2 separate regions of the Homo sapiens genome follow, and region 1 is linked to region 2. Evidence: promoter capture Hi-C in human tissues and cell types (Jung and others, 2019). All regions are on one chromosome and are shown on one strand. The core of a region is centred on a gene start or on the middle of the fragment in contact, and the rest is flanking DNA. Distances in the headings are between cores, read along the strand shown. Region 1 has its middle 30 kb from the start of DHCR7. Region 2 holds the start of NADSYN1 (NAD synthetase 1).

Region 1 (2,700 bases), core at 120-2,619, 35 kb after region 2:
GTCCAGCCTAGTGACATAGCAAGGCTCTGTCTGTTAGAAAAAAATAAGGCCAGGTGTGATGGTTCAGGCCTGTAATCCCAGCACTGTGGGAAGCTAAGGCTGAGGTTTGAGACCAGCTGGCGCAACATGGCGAAATCCTGTTTCTACTAAAAATACAAAATATTAGCCAGGTGTGGTGGTGCATGCTTGTAGTTCCAGCTACTCAGGATACTAAGGTGGGAGGATTGCTTGAGCCTGGAAGGTCAAGGCTACGGCGAGCTTTGATGGTTCCACTGCACTCCAGCCTGGGCAACGCAGCCAGACTCTGTCTCAAAAAAAAAAAAAAGTCATCCCTAACATTTATATACATTACATATATCTTGTTTTATATCATAATAACATAGTATAAAATAAAAATAGAAATAATCCTTTCTGCATGTGTATCTCAGGGTGCAGCCCTGGGGAGACAGAGAAGCTTAGATCTGGGGAAGCTCTCATCTGGCCGATAGGGTTTGCAGTGTGGCTTTCTAGAAGCTGTAAGGGTGAATGAACCGCAGATGCTCAGCCCCACCCAGAGAACTGCAGCTGGTGTGGAAAGTAGAGTGGGAGGCATGACAAGTGACAGCTGTAGTGAGAGACGTCGGGTCTGGAACACAGTGACTCAAGGCAGAGGACTGTCCCAGGGTACGGGATCCAGGCTGATGCCCATGTGCCACTGCACTGCTGGCTCAGATGCCCCCGTGACCCCTGCAGCTCCCGGGGCTCCTGGGAATGCTACTGGCGGTGCCCCACACTGGGTGGTAGCTGCCTTTGTATTTACCCAGCCATGCCTTGACTCCCTGAGCACTGGGCTGCTTCCAGCTCTTCATTCCAGCACCTGTAGGAAGCATCTGTGGATGCTTGTGGGCGGGATCGGCCACCATGTTACCTGCTCTTTGCAGGAAAGCCTGGCCTTTTACATCCCAGGCCTAGGACTTGTCCCAGTTTGACCAGGACTGAGAAGTTTTTGGGGACATGGCTTCTTCAATGTTGAAACTGGAAAAAACCAAACCAGGATGAGGTGGTTATTTCACCCAGACTTTGGTACTCAAATGTAAGGGCTTGGTTTGGCTAGGACTGATTGTGTGTCACAGCAGCACGCCACATATCCTGTATGCCTTCTGTAAACCCTCCATTTATTTTGGAAGGAACAGTCATCCCGTGTCTCCCACTGCCAGCTCCTGGGGGCTGCCAGCGTTTTACTGAGTGGCTCTCAGCTGCCTCCAATCTTGCTAAGGGCAGATTAAACTAGTAAAATGGGACTTGAGAGCAATTCTTCCTCCCTGAAAGGCTAGAGTGAGGACACGAGAACACGCTTTTCAGACTGGAGAGTCAACAATCACAACAGATTTCTGTAACTGAAGGTGGTGGTTTTCTTGTCTTATCTTCGACTGGAGGGCATCAGACTTACCTGGGGGTCTTCTTAGACTAAGATTGCTGGGCCCCCACCCAGCGTTTCTCATTCAGGGGATCTGGGATGAGGACTGCGGACTGCATTTCTAACAAATGAAGCTAATTTTGATGGTCTGGGGTCCGCACTTTGAGAACTGTTGTCACAGTGTTAAGGGATACAGTCTAGATGAGGGGTTGTCAGACTTTTTCTACAAGGGGGTCACATAAGAAATATTTTAGGTTTTGTGGGTGATATGGTTTGGATCTGTGTCCCCACCCAAATCTCATGTGGAATTGTAATCCCCAATGCTGGAGGTGGGGCCTGCTGGGAGGTGATTGGATCCTGGGGGTGGAATACCCCCCTTTGGTGCTATTCCTGATAGAGTTCTCATGAGATCTGGTTGTTTAAAAGTGTGTGGCATCTCCTTCCTCTCTCTCCCTCCTCCTCTGGCCATTAGGATGACCCTGCCTCCCCTTCACCTTCCACCATGATTGTAACTTTCCTGTGGCCTACCTGGAAGCCAGCACCACACTTCCTGTATAGCCCACAGAACTGCGAGCCAATTAAACCTTTTTTCTTTTCTTACTTTTTTTTTTTTTTTTTTTTTGAGATAGAGTCTCAGGAGCCTAGGCTGGAGTGCAACGGTGCAATCTCAGCTCACTGCAACCTCCGCTTCCAGGGTTCAAGCGATTCTTTTGCCTCAGCCTCCCAAGTAGCTGGGACTACAGGCGTGTGCCATCACACCTGGCTAATTTTTTGTATTTTTAGTAGAGACAGAGTTTCACTGTGTTAGCCAGGATGGTCTTAATCTCCTGACTTCGTGATCCGCCCGCCTCAGCCTCCCAAAGTGCTGGGATTACAGGCGTGAGCCACTGCGCCCGGCCCGAAACCTCTTTTCTTTATAAATTACCCAGTCTTAGGCATTTCTTTACAGCAGTGCGAGAACAGACTAGTACAGTGGGCCACATGTTCTCAACTACTCAACTCTGCCGTAGTAGCCCAAGAGCAGCTAGAGACAGGGTGCAAATGAGTGTGACTGAGTTCCAATAAAACTTAATTTACAAAGACAATCAGTGGGCCAGAATTAGCCTCTGGGCTTTTGTTTGCCAGCCTCTGGTTCAGACCATTACAGTGTGATTTTCAACAATCCCCTTAGCTTCTCTGTGTTTTCCATCTTTGTATTGGTGAGTGGATGACTTTGAGCGAGTTGAAAGCAGACCATGGAGGTCTGGGAAGGACCATTTGTTTAGAGTACAGATGCAGGTCAGTGTAGCACAACCTTACTGAGG
Region 2 (2,700 bases), core at 99-2,598:
TGAAAGCAGGTTGATATTTAAAAAATAAAAATAAAAAACCACTGGCTGCGGTGGCTCATGCCTGGAATCCCAGCACTTTGGGAGGCCAAGGCAGGTGGATCACTTGAGGTCAGGAGTTCGAGGCCAGCATGGCCACCATGGTGAAACCTTGTCTCTACTAAAAATACAGAAATTGGCCATGCATGGTGGCAGACGCCTGTAATCCCAGCTACTCAGGAGGCTGAGGCAGGAGAATCGCTTGAGCCCAGGAGGCAGAGACTGCAGTGAGCCAAGATGACACCACTGCACTCCAGCCAGGGCAACAGAGTGACAGTCCATGTCAAATAATAATAATCATAATAATAATCCAGGGCACATACTGATTAGATGCCATCTCTTGAAACATTCTGTTTCTATTGTTCCTGGCAAAGGCTCTTGCAGTCAGCAGACCAGTGCAAGACAAGCTGCAACCTGACTACACCTGCAGGCTTGCCCATTTAGGTGCAGGTGTAATAGTTTAACTTTTCATCCTCCACGGTGCGTCCATATGAACGAAAATTAGATGGTGACCTTTCAACAACCACACCCTATCTTCGAGGCCACCACGCCCGGCTGATTTTTGTATTTTTAGTAGAGACGGTGTTTCACCATGATGGCCAGGCTGGTCTTGAACTCCTGACCTCAGGTGACTTCCACCCCCTCCGGCCCCCCCAAAATGCTGGGATGACAGGCGTCTTTTTCTACTTCCCTTTCTGGGACGCCTTCTCCCACCAGGAAGGCCCACGGGGACCAGAGACCATCAATCTCTGGCCTCTGCACACCATCCCCGCCAGTGCGCAGCCATTCTGTTCAACTTAGATATCTCCGAGAATGGGCAGCTCAGTCCCAACCACGGGACCCCAGAGATATCAGAACACGGGTCCATCCCCAGGCCTCCCGCCTAAGCCGCCAGACTTTTCTTAACCGTGCCTTGTATATCGCTCGTCCCCGGGAACTATAAACACTCACTTCCCGACGAGGACCTGAGCACGTACCACTGGCGGGGTCATTGCCCATTATCTCACCTGATCCCATGCCCAGGGCCGAGAGTTTCCCAGGGCAAGGCTGTGAGCACGCCACGGGCAAGCCTGGGCCCAGCCACGGTGCCCGTGCGCCACCCCAAACCGGTGCCCCCGCCGCCCCAGACTCACTCTTTAAAATTCTTTGCAAATTGCCCTCGAAGTCCAGGGCCCACTGGTTGAGTGCGCAGGTGGCCACGGTCACCTTCCGGCCCATCCTGGCCGCAGTCGCTTGGGCAGGAGGCCAGCGGGGGACAGCAAGACCAGGGTCCCAGCGAGGTAGGCGGCTGGGACGCCGGACCTTCCGGGTTGCCCGGCCCCGCCCCCTCCCCGCCCATCCGTTGAGGCTCCGGCCAAGGAGGACTGCGGCGTCAGGCCCTGCCTACGGATCGCCCCGCCCCGTCTGAGGAGCTCACGACCGCGCCTGCGCAGCGAGGTGGCCTCAGCGTTCACGGCACCGCGAAGGGCCCCGCCCCCGCCCCGGCTCCACCCACGTCCCAGGCCCCGGCCCCGGCCCGGCCCTTGCGGGCAAACCCGTTCAGGTGCACAGGTGCAGGGGGCTCACCGCCCAGCTGCAGCACCCCTCTATTTTATCCCACACCGCCACCCCACATCCAGCTTAGCCATGTTTTATTTTAATACGGCATGAAACGTTCCAAATACACCAAAAGTGGAGAGTACGGTAGGAGCGCTCCATCGTGCCCGCGGGACAGCAGACGATAGCAATCGATTCTCCGTGCTGGGAATCCCGCCACCCTGGGCGGATGGCGCTGAATTCTTGGGAACCCTCTCCTGCCCCTTTCACTCCTGTACCACGTGTGTAAGTAGCTCAGGTAGCGCACTGTTTGCCTTTTCTGAAACTACAGGAACTGCACTTGAATGTGCTTCTGCAACTTGATTTTTTCCCCTGTAATATGAGATACGTTCTTTTAATTATTTTTCTGCAGTTTGGTATTCCATAGTGGCAGTAAAGCAGGTTTATTCAATAGCGGATGGGCATTGACGTTATTAGCAGCGTTTTGCCAACAGACGCACGCACACAGGCACTGCTGCAATTTCCTTTCCGGCAAGGTTTCCTTCGTGACCTCGTTCCGCCAGTTCCTGCAGCAGCTTTGCAGAGTAGTAGGGTTCGTGCTGTTTGACTTTACTAAATATTGCCAAGTCTCTTCTCCAGGGCGCTTGCACCGATTCACTACCAGCGGTTTCTCACTTTTTATTTTTTCACATTTCCTCTTTAGTCCACCCACGGTAGAATCCATTTTTCCCCCATATAAATAACTGCCTCATCATCGTTGCTTGAAGAGGCCATCCTTCCTTCTGTCATTCATGTTAGTTTAAAAACACACAATTCACAAATTTGGAAAAAGAGAAGGCTTTATTTCTTGTAAACGGTCGTAGCCTGCAAGGTGGCGGCCATCTGTCTGAGGCTGGGAATCTGTCTCCAGCCAAGGCCAGAGACAGGCACGTCCAAGGAGGAGGGGTTGGGGCAGGAGCGCTATGCTGAAGGGATTGGCTAAACATACATATTCAACAGGTAACAGGAGGAGCTATGAATATTCATGAAGGTGGTCCTGACACATGCCCTCTTATTGAGCAAAGCATGTAATATATGACCCATGTTCACTTTGGGGTGGAGACTTAACATTTACACATCTTACAATTA

What was found. The method cuts DNA at HindIII sites, captures the fragments that hold promoters and counts their contacts. A contact is called where the count stands out against the background at its distance.
Region 1: a fragment that was not itself captured here is called in contact with the fragment with the promoter of NADSYN1 in region 2 in 1 of the 25 tissues and cell types used here (thymus).

What each region holds. Positions count from the first base shown.
Region 1 is chr11:71,416,792-71,419,491 of GRCh38, reverse strand. It overlaps the pseudogene ACTE1P. Among named protein-coding and RNA genes, the nearest start is that of DHCR7, 30 kb to the left of the region's middle. The HindIII fragment of the contact is 3,115 bases long and covers 1-2,700 here.
Region 2 is chr11:71,451,851-71,454,550 of GRCh38, reverse strand. It overlaps NADSYN1 (NAD synthetase 1), which reads right to left and starts at 1,348. Exons shown (of 21, transcript NM_018161.5): 1 at 1,170-1,348. The coding sequence starts at 1,254. It overlaps DHCR7-DT (DHCR7 divergent transcript), which reads right to left. Exons shown (of 2, transcript NR_186309.1): 2 at 2,394-2,700. RefSeq lists enhancers at 191-690, 691-1,192, 2,430-2,509, 2,630-2,679 and a silencer at 1,250-1,619. The HindIII fragment of the contact is 4,997 bases long and covers 1-2,700 here.